Linked DNA regions of Homo sapiens: region 1 is linked to region 2. The links are contacts of gene promoters, found by promoter capture Hi-C in blood cells and fetal thymus (Javierre and others, 2016). All regions are on one chromosome and are shown on one strand. Each heading gives the region's core, a stretch centred on a gene start or on the middle of the fragment in contact. The rest is flanking DNA. Distances are from core to core; before and after follow the strand shown.

What was found. Contacts are between HindIII fragments. The CHiCAGO score rates a contact against its expected background, and 5 or more counts as called.
Region 1: a contact is called between the fragment with the promoter of SLC2A10 here and the fragment with the promoter of CDH22 in region 2, in 1 of 17 cell types (M0 macrophages). The highest score is 5.3, in M0 macrophages.

Annotation. Positions count from the first base shown.
Region 1 is chr20:46,704,918-46,710,924 of GRCh38, reverse strand. SLC2A10 (solute carrier family 2 member 10) reads right to left here and starts at 1,276. Exons shown (of 5, transcript NM_030777.4): 1 at 1,185-1,276. The coding sequence starts at 1,188. The HindIII fragment of the contact is 5,872 bases long and covers 1-3,326 here.
Region 2 is chr20:46,306,854-46,312,970 of GRCh38, reverse strand. It overlaps CDH22 (cadherin 22), which reads left to right and starts at 4,473. Exons shown (of 12, transcript NM_021248.3): 1 at 4,473-4,716. The HindIII fragment of the contact is 22,305 bases long and covers 461-6,117 here.

The sequences.
Region 1 (6,007 bases), core at 27-2,526, 400 kb before region 2:
TCCAGCCTGGCGACAGAGTGATCATCTCAAAAAAAAGAAAAAAAAAAGAAAAGATAATTCAGGTCACGGCCCCGCTCCAGCTTAAAACCCTTCTCCAGCTTGCCGTGGCATTTGCAATAAAATCTGAACTTCTCACCACGGCTTACAAAGCCCTGCACACCTCTCTGCCATCCCTTTGACCTCAGTGCCCTGCCCGCTGTGCTCTGGCCATCCTGGCCTGGGCCACACAAACTCATTCCTGCCTGAGGGCCTTTGCACTGTTGCTGCCACCTGGAAGCTCTTTCTCCAGATCTCAGCAAGACCCGCTTCTGAGGAAGTTCTCAGCTCCAAAACGTCCTACTCCAGAAAACCCACCCTGACCACCTACCCAAGGAACCCACGCCCTTGGCCTTCACGCCACCCCATTTTATGGGTTCCACAACACCTTATCTCTCTCTGAAGTTATTCATAAACGTGTTTACCCAGCTGCTCAATCAGAATGCCACCTCCATGAGAGAGAGGTTTATTGTCTATTTTGTTCATTGCTGAAGCTCTAACCCCTATATCAATGTCTGGCACGTAGTAGGTGCTCACTCAAGAATCAACGACTGATCCTTCGAGGCTTCTGAATGCAGAGAGAAAAATAGAGCCCTAGTCCCGAGTGGCAACAAAGCCATTCCCCACGCGTCCCACCCCAATGCTGTGTTAGAATCTCCTTCTCTGTCCCCTCTCTGCAGAATCACGTCCAGAGGAGGGGGTTCGTCTGTTTTGTTCGCAGTTTCGTTCGCGACAGCGTCCCCAGGCCCACAACAGCGCCTGGGGCACAACCGCGCTCAGCGAATCGATGAACTGCTTTGCTTCTTTCGGAGCCTCCATTTCTTCATCTGCAGACCAGGAACAGCTGCACTTGCCTGGGGCTGTCGGATCAGGGCGCCCGGGAGAGTGCCTGGGCCCGAGTGGGCGCTGCAGCAAGTGAGGGGCCACTTTTCCGGGGCAGAAAGGAAGATGGAAGGAAGCGCGACCGAGCCCCGTCCCAGCCCCCGCCGCAGGCCTGCAGTCTCGGGCTGGCCACCCGAGAGGCGGTATCCGGCCGGGGCGGCCCTGGGGGAGCCAGGGGGCGCGCACTCTTAGGGGAGCGTGGGGGCGGTGTCTACACCCTGGGAAGGGGTCGGGCTTCCAGCAGGCAGCGCCCGATCGGGACTTACCCATGGCGAGCGGGACTCGGCGGCGTGCTGGGGGCGCTGAGGGGCCGGGCGCGCATCCCCCGCCGGAGTCCCCAACGCCGCTGCCGCCGGACAAACTTTCCGGCCCGCCCCCGCCTCTGTCCCTCCTGCCCTGCCCTCCCGCGCGCAGCGCCGCCAACGCCACGTCGGCCAGCCAGGCCCCGAGGCCTGGAGGCGGGACGGAGGGGAGCCCAGGACCGCCCCCGGCCGCCCCAGGCCTGGCAAGGACCCCCTCCCTCGCCCACTGTCCTCCCGGGGGCCCCCACCCGCCATCTCCCGGGTCCCCTTCGTTGGTAGTCCTCCCCTGGGGGGGACACACCAGCAAGCCATCCTCCCTGGTAGAAGACCCCACACGCACTGTCTTCCCCTGGCCTCTTTGCAGGGAAGAGGTGCCCCAATCACTGGTCCACACTTGTCTGGCCTCCCCAGCGTGCGCACACACACAACACACACAACACACACATCTACACCGAGTGAGACACTCGCGCATACCCACTGGAGCCGCTCACTCTCTCATGGATTCATCCCTCATTCACTCCACGCTTGGGTTTGGACACCACCACATACCAGGCACTACGCTAGGCTTGGGATGGGCCGAAGAACAAAACAGAACAGGTCTTTTGTTTACCTTCTAGGAGGGGAAGAGTTTACATTCTAGGAGGGGAAGACGAAAAAGAAGTAACTAAAGGATCCTGAGAAATATCAGCTAGTGATAAAGACTAGGCAGAAAGTTAAACTACGGTGGTGGGTTAGGCAGACACAGGTGGCTGCTTTAGCTTGCTGATCTGAGAAGAGGATATCTGAGCAGAGATCCGGCATTCCCCGCAGGGGGAACAGCAAAGGCAAAGGCCCCGGGGTGGGAAGGAGCTTATGGGGTACAAAAAACGCAGAAATGAAGCCAGAGTGTCTGGAGCAGAGGAGAAGACAGGGAGAGAGGAGGGAGATGGGAGCTAAGGGAGGGGCTTTGGTGGGCCAGGGTCAGGAATGTAGATTTCAACCCCATCAGCAGGACAGATAACTGGGGAGTTCTAACTGGTTAAGGGCCAGAATACTCAGCCTTCCCACCTGGGAGGCTGTTGCAAGGTGAGAAGTTGGTTTGGGCTCATGTCACTGTGGTGAGGTTGGAGAAAAGTAGGCAGATCACATATATATGCTCCGTAAGAACTTACAGACTGGAAGAGGGGCAGCTTGTGGCTGGGAAAGGAGATCCAGAGTTCTGTCTTGGCTGTGTGACATTTGAGGTGCTCAGCAGGCATCCACGTGGAAATAGGTGGGCAGTTGGCTATGAGCCTGGGATTCAGGAAAGGGGTAGGCTGGGGACACTGCCACTAATGCTCACTCAGGCAAAAATGCACGTACAAGCCCAGCACTCACATGGGCGCAGCCTTATCCAGCCTCTCAATACGTGTTCACAGATAGGCACCTTTGCATGTGCACCAGTGGCTGTACCCTCACCAGTCAAAGTCACAGCGACCCCTACCGTACAGGTGGATACACAGGCATTCTTCCATGCTGAAGGCACAAGCAGGTATCTCAGCAAAGATGACAGCATCCATAAGACCTCTGAACCAGGGGATCCTTGCACAGTTTCAAAAATAATAATAGCTGGGGCAGTTTGAAAACATGGCTCCAGAATTCGTTGTTCCTTCCCTTGAAATAAAAGTGGGCTTGTGACTGGTTTGATCAGTAGCCTGCAGAGTGACACTGTGTAACTTCTGAGGCTGGGTCACTGGAATACTGGTGCCTGGATCCCTGAGCCTTCATATAAAAAGTCTGATTACACTGAGACCCTCCTGGTATTCGTGGCCTAGTGGCATCCTCTTCTCTTCTAGATGTCACTAGAAGTATCACTTAGCAACGTCTAATGAATAGAAGACGGCAAATATGGTGGATGTCATTTTCGGATTAGGTTATAAATGATTTCTGTGTTGTTCAGTTTCGAGATCTCTCACTTGTTTGCTCTGATGAAGCAATTGAGCTGCCATGTTTTGAGCTTCCCAATGGAGAGGCCCACATGGAGCGAAGCTATTGAATCACATAGCTAATGCCTCCAGGCAATAACCAGTGAGGGACTAAAGCCCTTAAATCAACAGCCCCTAAGGAGCTAAATCTGGCCAACAAGCTTGTGGTGAGCTTGGACGTGAATCTTCCCTCAGCCTAGCCTGGAGGTGACTCTAGTCCTGGCTGACACCTTGATTTCAACCTTGCAAGATTCTGAGCTCTTGCTCAGAGCTAGAATTTAGCTATGCTAAATTCTTTATCCTAGAAGACATGAGATAATAAATGTTTGTTTCTTTAAGCCACTAAATTTGGGGAATAATTTGTTATACAGTGATAAATAACGAATACACATTTCATTATTGTTCATTATCTTGATTAGAAAAAGGAGATGGATCATCTCCAGGAGAAAGTAGAGATTAGGTTATATCTACATGGACACTAGGAGGCTTATCACCCTTGGCCTTGAATCTCTCCTCTGACCCTTGAACAGTTAACCATCAGAAGCTGAGAAATCGGTGAGGATGGTATCTAACTTTAATTTAATGTGATCTTAAGGGACTGAAAATGCCTTTGCAAAGATTAGAGAGCAAGAGAAATCTGGCATGGTTGACTCCATCTTGACTCTGACCTCACCGGCTACCTGTCTTTGCTTATTTCTGGGTATAGGCCAAGCCAACCACGAGAGGAGTTTAGTTTATATTTTAACTTTGAAGCAAGGATGATAATAATCACTCCCTAAAACTAACCCCCTCCTTGCTCAGGGACTGAAGCTACCTTTGTAAAATTAATGAAAGTCCATGAGGTTAGGATTATGGGATGGGCCTGAATTATGCTAAAATGCAGGTGTAGTTTTGGTAATTCCTTACTGCTCAGGAGTCATGTGGCCAGAGGTCACAAGATTTGTAATTTCCCCAATTGCTCCTGTAGATAACATCACTATTGTAGAACCTAAGATTCATCTTTTGAGATGTTTTTCATACTTTCACATCCTGGCAACCAACTGACCCCGCCTGGACTAAAGATTCATGAGTGGACTGGTCCTGTGGCTCCCATCTAGAGGCAGACTCAGTGCACGGGGCTGTTTTCCATATCTCGATGATTTCACCCCCCCAACCAATCAGCAGCACCCATTCCCTATCCCCCTGCTCACCAAAGTATTTATAAAAACCCTGGTTTCTGAAGTTTTCAGAAAGACTGATTTGAGGAATAACTCCACCTAGCCCACTTGGCTAGCTCTGCATTAATAAAACTCTTTCTCTACTGCAATACTGCAGTCTCAGTGAACTGGTTTTGTCTGTGCAGCGAGCAGGAAGAACCCATTCAGCAATTATAGGACTTTGCTGAAAAGCCCTTCTCACCAATGTCTGTCTCTTAAGTGTTGTAAACCTCTCACTCACTATTTTAAAAGCCTATTCATTAGCTTGGGGTCCATCATGGAAAAAGGAGTTTCTCTGATTTAAAAAAAAAATTCCCTTAAAAAGCCACTTTAATAAACTTCCTTTTATAGATGGCCTCAGAACCCAAGTTGATTTCTTGGGGAGTGACACAGAATTTAGATAAAATACAGGATAAAATACAGGATGCCCAGTTAAATGTGAATTTCAGATAAACATGGGACATAATTTTACTACAAAATTATTTGATGTCTATCTGAAATTCGCGTTTAACTGGGCATACTATTTGTTGCTGTTTTTGCTAAATCTGGCAACCTTACCAGCCATTGTTTTGGACTAAGCTCCTGCACTAGTCCCCAACAGAACAGACTGAAAATCAAAATGGAGTCACCCATGCTAGAGTTCCAGGTCACTGAACCTAAGCTAAGTTGTTATCTGACCTTTCCAGAAATCAGGAGAGAGACAAGCAGCCAGCTTAAATCTTCAATCAGTGTGATGATGAAGTTCCCTCTGCTTTCATCCTTACACAAAAAAGGTAGCCTGAAGTAACCTGATGTTAACCAGTTATTTTTCTATTGCTCTAAAGTAACTAATATACTTTTTGTTCTTTGTTTCTGCTTTCTTCAGTCCTTCTCTGTCTTTATAAAGCCAACCTCTGCTTCTCAGCTTACTGGAACATTTATTCTATTTGATGAAACGAAGTGTTGCCCAATTTTAGAATTGTAAATAAAGCCAACTGAGATCTTTAAACTTGTGATTTTGTCTTTCGACACAGCTAATGAGGAACAGACCAGGAACAACTACACTTCCCTGGGACTGTCGGGATGGATCAGAAGAGGCAGGATGAAGACAGCAAGACCCAGAAGGAGGCTTCAGCTGTGAATCATGTAGCAGGGCATGGAGCTTAAACTCAGCTGTCGGCAACCCTGAAGTTTAGCAGGAGTGAGGAGGGGAGGGCACGATGGAGGGTTGGATTAGGGCTGAGAAAGGGAGTATAACTTGCACATTTAGAGTTTGTTTTGTAAGTGGATTCTGCTTTGAGATTTTATTTTGTATTTTTTGCGATGGAGTCTCACTATGTTGCCCAGGCTGGAGTGCAGTGGCTATTCACAGGCATGAGGATAGTGCCCTTCAGCCTCTAACTCCTGACTCAAGTGATCCTCCTGCCTCAGTCTTCTGAGTAGCAAAGACTATAGGCATGTGCCGCCATGAAATTGTCCTCATAGGGTTAACTAGAATTACATGCTGGGTTCTGGGCAGAAACATAGTTATAATTAAGCATTAATTTGGCTGCCCTTTGGCCCACTTCCTTGTAACTGAAAGTCATGTGGCACTAGATACTGCCATTTGCATCCCCATTGTTCCTACAGATAGGATTTCTGACCTTTGCATCATAAGGCTTTTTGTTTA
Region 2 (6,117 bases), core at 3,224-5,723:
CTGCGAGGATTAACGCCATGAGGTGGAGGTGCTTAAGGGCGCAGCGGCCTCGGCGCCTGTGGCTCCCGCAGGCTCGCCCCTCCCCGTCCTGGCGCCCCCAGCCAAGGGCGGCCTCCCCGTCCCCTCGAAGTTCCCTTCCCATGGAGTCCCCTCCCCAAGTAGTCCCCTCCCCCTCCCTGCGGTCCCGTCGGCCCCGGCGGAGAAAGCGGGCTCGCAGAGGTGCAGAGCGCCCGGAGTCCCAGGTGGGGCGCCCTCGTTCGGGTCCCGGGTCCCTCTGGGGAGGGGCTAGGGTGTGCCCCGGCTGCTCCCTACGCCCCCCGGCGGGCTGGCGGCCCCGTCCCCGCGCTGACATTTCTTTGGTTGTTCATGTCACGGCCCTTCAGTCTGCGCAGTTTTACAAATGTGCTGGCGAGATGAAAGGCGCCGGGAACAGCGACTGGAGAACAAGTTCGGAAAAGCTTTTAACTTCCAGCTCCCACAGACAAAGCGGGAGGAGGGGGAGGAAGGGAGGGAAGGGAGGGGAAGCACAGAGTGGGGAGAGTAGAGGAAGGGAGCGGGAGGAGGGGAGTGGGAAGGAAGGAGGGAAGGAGGAAGAGGAGAAGGAAGTGTGGGGAGAAGAGAGAAAGGGAAACGGGGCACTGAGAGTGCGGGATGAGGACAGAGAGAACCAGAATAGGACAGGCAAGAGGGAGACAGAGGGAGACTGGGTGCCCCGAAGAAACAGAGATGGGAAGAGACAGAGAAACAGAGAGAGGGAGACAGACATGGAGGCAGAGAGAACAGGACAGAGGGAGGGGGAAACGGAAAGAGAACGACAGACGCAGGGACACAGCTAGGAGATAAGCAGATGGGGGGAGGGGAGAAGGGTGCTAGAGAAGATGTAGGGGCAGGTAGCAAGAGACTGACACCCATTCAGAAACAGTCAGAGAGACCAGAGACACTGAGGGGGAGGAGACAGAGACAGGAGTGGAGGCAGTCAGAGAAGCGAGGACAGATGGACAGTGCATGAGAAGGCGACAGACAGATAAAGGGATGACAGAGAAGTGTAGAGAAGAAGAGGAAAAGAGCCAGGGAGAATAGCAGAGCCTGGAGCTAAGAGCAGCCTCCCCATCCCCAACACACACGCGTGTATGCACTCACACACACACACACACACACACACACACACACCCTTCACTGACCCCTGCTCAAACCTGCAGGCTCCCTGGAGCAGACCCTGCTGTTAGGGCGTTCAGACTAGAGCAGTGGCTCTCAACTGGGGGTGACTTTGCCCTTCAGGAGACATTTGGCAATGTCAGGACACATTTTTAGTTGTCACAACTGGGGAGGGGGTGTGCTGCTGGCATCTAGTGGGTAGAAGCTGGGGATGCTACTAAGCATCCTACATGGGACATGCCCAATGACGAAGAATTATCTGGCCCAAATGTCAATAGGGCCAAAGTGGAGTGACCCTGGGCTAGAGAGAGAGAAATGCCCATGGACCCAGATGACTACTCCAGGGGAAAACATGTCCCCTGTGCCAAGACAGGGCTGTGTGCCCTTCTGATGGAGTGGGAAGGAGAATTCTCACAAGCGCCTCCTCTTGGAATCCTTCCCTAGCCATGCCTCTCTCCCCAAGTCCTTCCTCATCCTACCCAATCCCTGGAGGAGTGGTGTCTCTCTTATTTGTAGACTCACCACACGATATAAAAAAGCACACGTTCAAACTCTAACTACAAAGCACTTGGCATTTTATTTGCCCAGAGGCAATATTGCACAACAGTTCAGTGTGCAGGCTTTGGCCCCAGCCTGCCTTGGTTTGAATCCCAGCTCTGCCATAAACTAATTGTGTGACCTTGGGCACGTTTCATAGTTGCACTGTGCCTCAGTTTCCCCATTATGAATTTATAAATTTGTTGAAAGTAAAAGGAAATTATCTGTGTAAAACATTTAGGAGAAGGCTTGACACATGGCACAGGTTCACTAAATGTTAACTGTTGTTACTATCATCTCATTTTCTCTTCACATCAATGCTGGGGGAAGTGGCTTGCCCACGTGTCACACAGTCTGCATGGGGCAGAACTGCTCTCAGAGCCCAGGCCTGCCCAGTTCTTCCTCTGTCACACTACACTGCCTCTTGCTGCCCCTGCCACACTGCAGCAGGAGTCCCAGCTTACCTTCTCCCAGACCAGAGTGAGAGGTCTGACCCAGGCCCAATGCGTCAACCTGATCTCTCTACTTGCCGTCTGAATGATCTTGCTATTTCAACACCGTGTCTCAGTTTCCTCATTTGTAAAATGGGCTAATACTAGTATCTGATTATTGTGAGGACTTAAAAGCAGAACTATGGCACACAGCAAGTGCTCAATAAACATTCAATGTGTTCTCAGAGCCTAGCCATAGTGCTCACAACAGAGTGGACACTCAGAGAAAGTTTGTTGAAGGAAGGAAGAATTGGAAATAACGGTAGAATGAGCCTGAAAATAGGAAACATTGGGATAGGAAAACCTGAGGGTCTAATAAAGAGTCATGGGGAGCTGGGTGCAGCAGCACATGCCTGGTGTCCCAGTTACTTGAGAGGCTGAGGCAGAATGATCACCTGAGTCCAGGAATCCAGCCTGGACAACATAGTGAGACCCCCATCTCAAAAAAAAATAAAAATAAAAGAGAGAGAAGAGAGAGACCAGAGCAAAAGAGAAAGATGTGACAACAGTTCATTCAATAACATTTATTGAGCACCTACTGTGTGCATGCAGATGTGACAGCAACAGTGTCCCAGACCAAAACAACCTGTGGACAACTAAGTAGGTCTGACTCCAGAGATGAACAGCACACACCAGAGCCTGGAGGAAGAGGCAAAGAAGGAATGGGAACTGGAGCAAACAGCAAAAGTGAGTCAGAGCGGGAGGAGAGAACCAAAAGTGAAGAGATGCACCTGGAAGGCTGGCCTCTGGTCTCTGAAAGCATGAAAGAGTGGAGGCTAAGAATAGAGAGGAGAGGGGAAGAGAGAGATGGAGAAAAGGAAGGCGATAGAAAGGCAAGGCTGGAAGAGATCAATGAAGGGAAATAAACCAAGAGAAGGACGTAGGGGAGGGAACAGACTGGCACAGTGGAGAATACATCTCAAAATAAATAAATGAATGATGGAGTTTAGTAGGAGGGGCCAGAGGGGCAGCCAGCAGGAGAGGTGATTCCAATCATCAGCAAGACGGACTAGGGTGTGGAGATGGAGATGGAAATTGGGGAAGGAGGCGAGGAGGAGAGAAGGATAGGGGCGAGGTAGAGCTGGGGGTCCTGGAGGGCCCTGCCCCCTCTTTGCCATGAACTTCAGCAGCTGCTTGTGGGTGATTAAATGGCTGGTCATTGGCAGCTTGGCGGGACAGAGGTCTGCAGCTGTCCAGTCTCCTGTTATCCTTCACTCACCTATCTGGAAGCCATGGGGAATAGGGGGGCGGGCAACTCCTAAGGGGACCTACAACCCAAGACAAAGGGTGGGTCTATGGGAGTCACTGGTCCTATCCTACCATCAACGACCTCATATTGGGAACTCAGGAGTGGGGTGGGAGGGTCTCCTCCATTAGGCCTCATCCCAGAGAGATGAAGTAGTAAGGAGAGCCAGGCAGCCAGGAGAAAGAAACAGGGCCAGGTGGAAAAAACATCAGGGAGCAGACCAGCCGGATTTTTAAAAGAACGGAAAACCCAACCAGCAAGGAGTTTCTGGGCAGTGGGAAGATTTTATTGGGAGACTTCTCCAGGTCAAGGTGGCACCAAGTTAAGGATGGAGGTGTCTTGTTTTGCCTGCTTACTTTGTTGGTTGCAAGGATGTCCAGCGGGACTCTCCAGAGGAAAAGCCCACAAGTTTCTCTCCCGGGGACACCCGACCTCCCACCTGCCTGGAGACTCAGCCCTGGGCACCTGGTCGGTGTCCACCTCAATGCACAGTGACTGTTTCTGAACTGGCAGATCTGGTCTGTGCAAGGTGCCTTTCTGGGCAGCAAGCCGGGGCGGCCACTGTTCGAGAAGCCTGCTCCTACCCTGGCCTGCGCCCCTGCTCCTCTGAAGGCGGCCTCCCGCAGTAGTCAGGGGGCGGAAATGGGAAGCCCTATTCGCAGTAAAATCAGGTGGGGAAATAGGCTCTGGTCTCAAACTGCGGCCACCTGGGGAGCTGCCAGGCGAGGAGGTAGATGGTCCCCCTCCTGGGGGCGCTCCCTTCGCGCGGATCTGGGGTTGGAGGAGGGAGGGGCACTGTCCCCTGGGGGGTTTCCTGGGACTGGGCCGCCCGAGAGAGGGAAAGGCTGTCCCCTCCTGGTGTAGGAGGGGCGCGATCCGGGGGGCGGGGGCTGGGGTTCCCCGGCTGCGGGGGTCCGGGCCGGCGGCCGCCTGCGGCTTGGCGCTGCGCGGCTCCTGCCCGGCGGGCCCTGCATTCTCCGAGTCTCCACCAGAGGCTGCGGGAGGAAGGAAGGGATCCGTCCCTTGCACACTTCCCCCCAGTCAGACACGCACACTCCCTCGCTCCCGCTCGCTCGCTCACTCCCTCGCTCTCTCGCTCTCTCGCTCTCTCGCTCACACACACGCGCGCACACGCCGCCGCGGCTCCCCCTCTCGCTCCCGCTCTCCCTCCGGCTCCTGCGGGCGGCCGCGGGGCTCCGGACTCGCCCGCTGCCCGCGCCGGGGCTCCCGCCCCACGCAGCGTCCCGAGGCGGCAGGACTAGGGGGAGCCCCGGGCCGCTCCCCGAGGTAAGAGCGCGGGGTGCCGCGGGAGGAGCGGCCGGATCGCCGCCGAGGGGAGGCTGCCCGGCAGGGAGGGAGCCCCCTGGCCGGCGGGAGCGGCCGGGCAGGCGGCGCGGGGGGCGAGCCTCCAGCCGCAGGAGGAGCCGGGGTGCCTGCGCCCGGCCCTGCGCGCCCCCTCCTCTCGGCCGGGAGGGCGGGGAGGGAGTTTCCCACGTCCAAACTTTCCCCGGCGCGGAGCCGAGCCGCCTCTCGGCCCGAAGCCCGCAGCTCCCACCCGTCCCCACAACCTCGTCCGCCGCGCGCCCGGGAGCCTCCGGGACCCCCGCGGGCCGAGGGGTGGCAGCGCCAGGGGCCGAGCCGGCGCGCCAAAAGGGGCTGGGAAGGTGGCGCACAGCCCTGACGCGAGGGCTGGGACCCAGGCGTTCCCGGTCCCCCAACCCTGCTAGCGGGGCTCGGCTCCCCGGCCCCTCCCAGAGGCGGGGTCCGGGGCCGGGAAAATACCGCACGGCGCGAGCGTGTGCGCGCGGTGTGTGTGTGCGAGGTCGTGCCGCGTCCGGGGACACCCGGAGGCTGACTCCAGCCGCGGCGACACGCACGGTTCTGGTCCCCTCTGAGCCGGGGAGGCGGCCCACAGGGACCCCTGCCGGCCCCACCGGCGCGACCCCCCCTGCCCTATGGCCGTCGGGCGGGCTGGCGGTGAGCGAGAGCCAGCGCTGCTCTCTTCCTTAGGACCCGACTCCGGAGACACCGTCCCCGCTGGGGAAGAAGGACGGGGCCCCCGACAGCCTAACGTCCAAAGAGAGCGCCACTTAGGGCTAACCCTCGGGGGCCGCGGCGTTTACTGTGAAGAGTGGACTGCGTGGGCGCGCGGGGTGCCGGGCAGCCCTGGGTGGGCACAGTGTGGACCCGTCTCGCTCGCGCCTCCCCGCTGCCTCTTCTCTGGCAACGTCGGGCCCTGTCCCAGGCGGGGCTGCAGAGGGTAGGGCTGATCCAGGATCCCCCGAGGTCTCCCCGAGGTGCAGGGCACCCCCTTGTGGCGGGCAGAGAAGCTGCTGTTTGAAGCTGCTCAGGTCTTCCGAGGTGCTCGCTCCTTGGAACCTCTTCTCTCCAAACCCTTCGGGCGTCGCCAGGGTTGCGCATGCCAGCTTCTTTTTCCGTGGGGCTGATTCCAGCACTCCCCAGGTTTCTGGGGCTGGCCGAGGTGCCCCCAGCACAGGCAGCGGCTCATTTGAGGGCTTTGGCTGTTGCCAGCTCTCTCTCCCTCTCCACCCAGGTTCAGGATCTCATCCTCTTCTCCCACTGGTCAGCGCCAATACCCTATATCAGCATCACCACTGCCCTAGGGCCCAAAGGCTCCTCCCTAACCACCGCGACTCTCTGTCCTTCATTTGTATCCCGTATATGTGT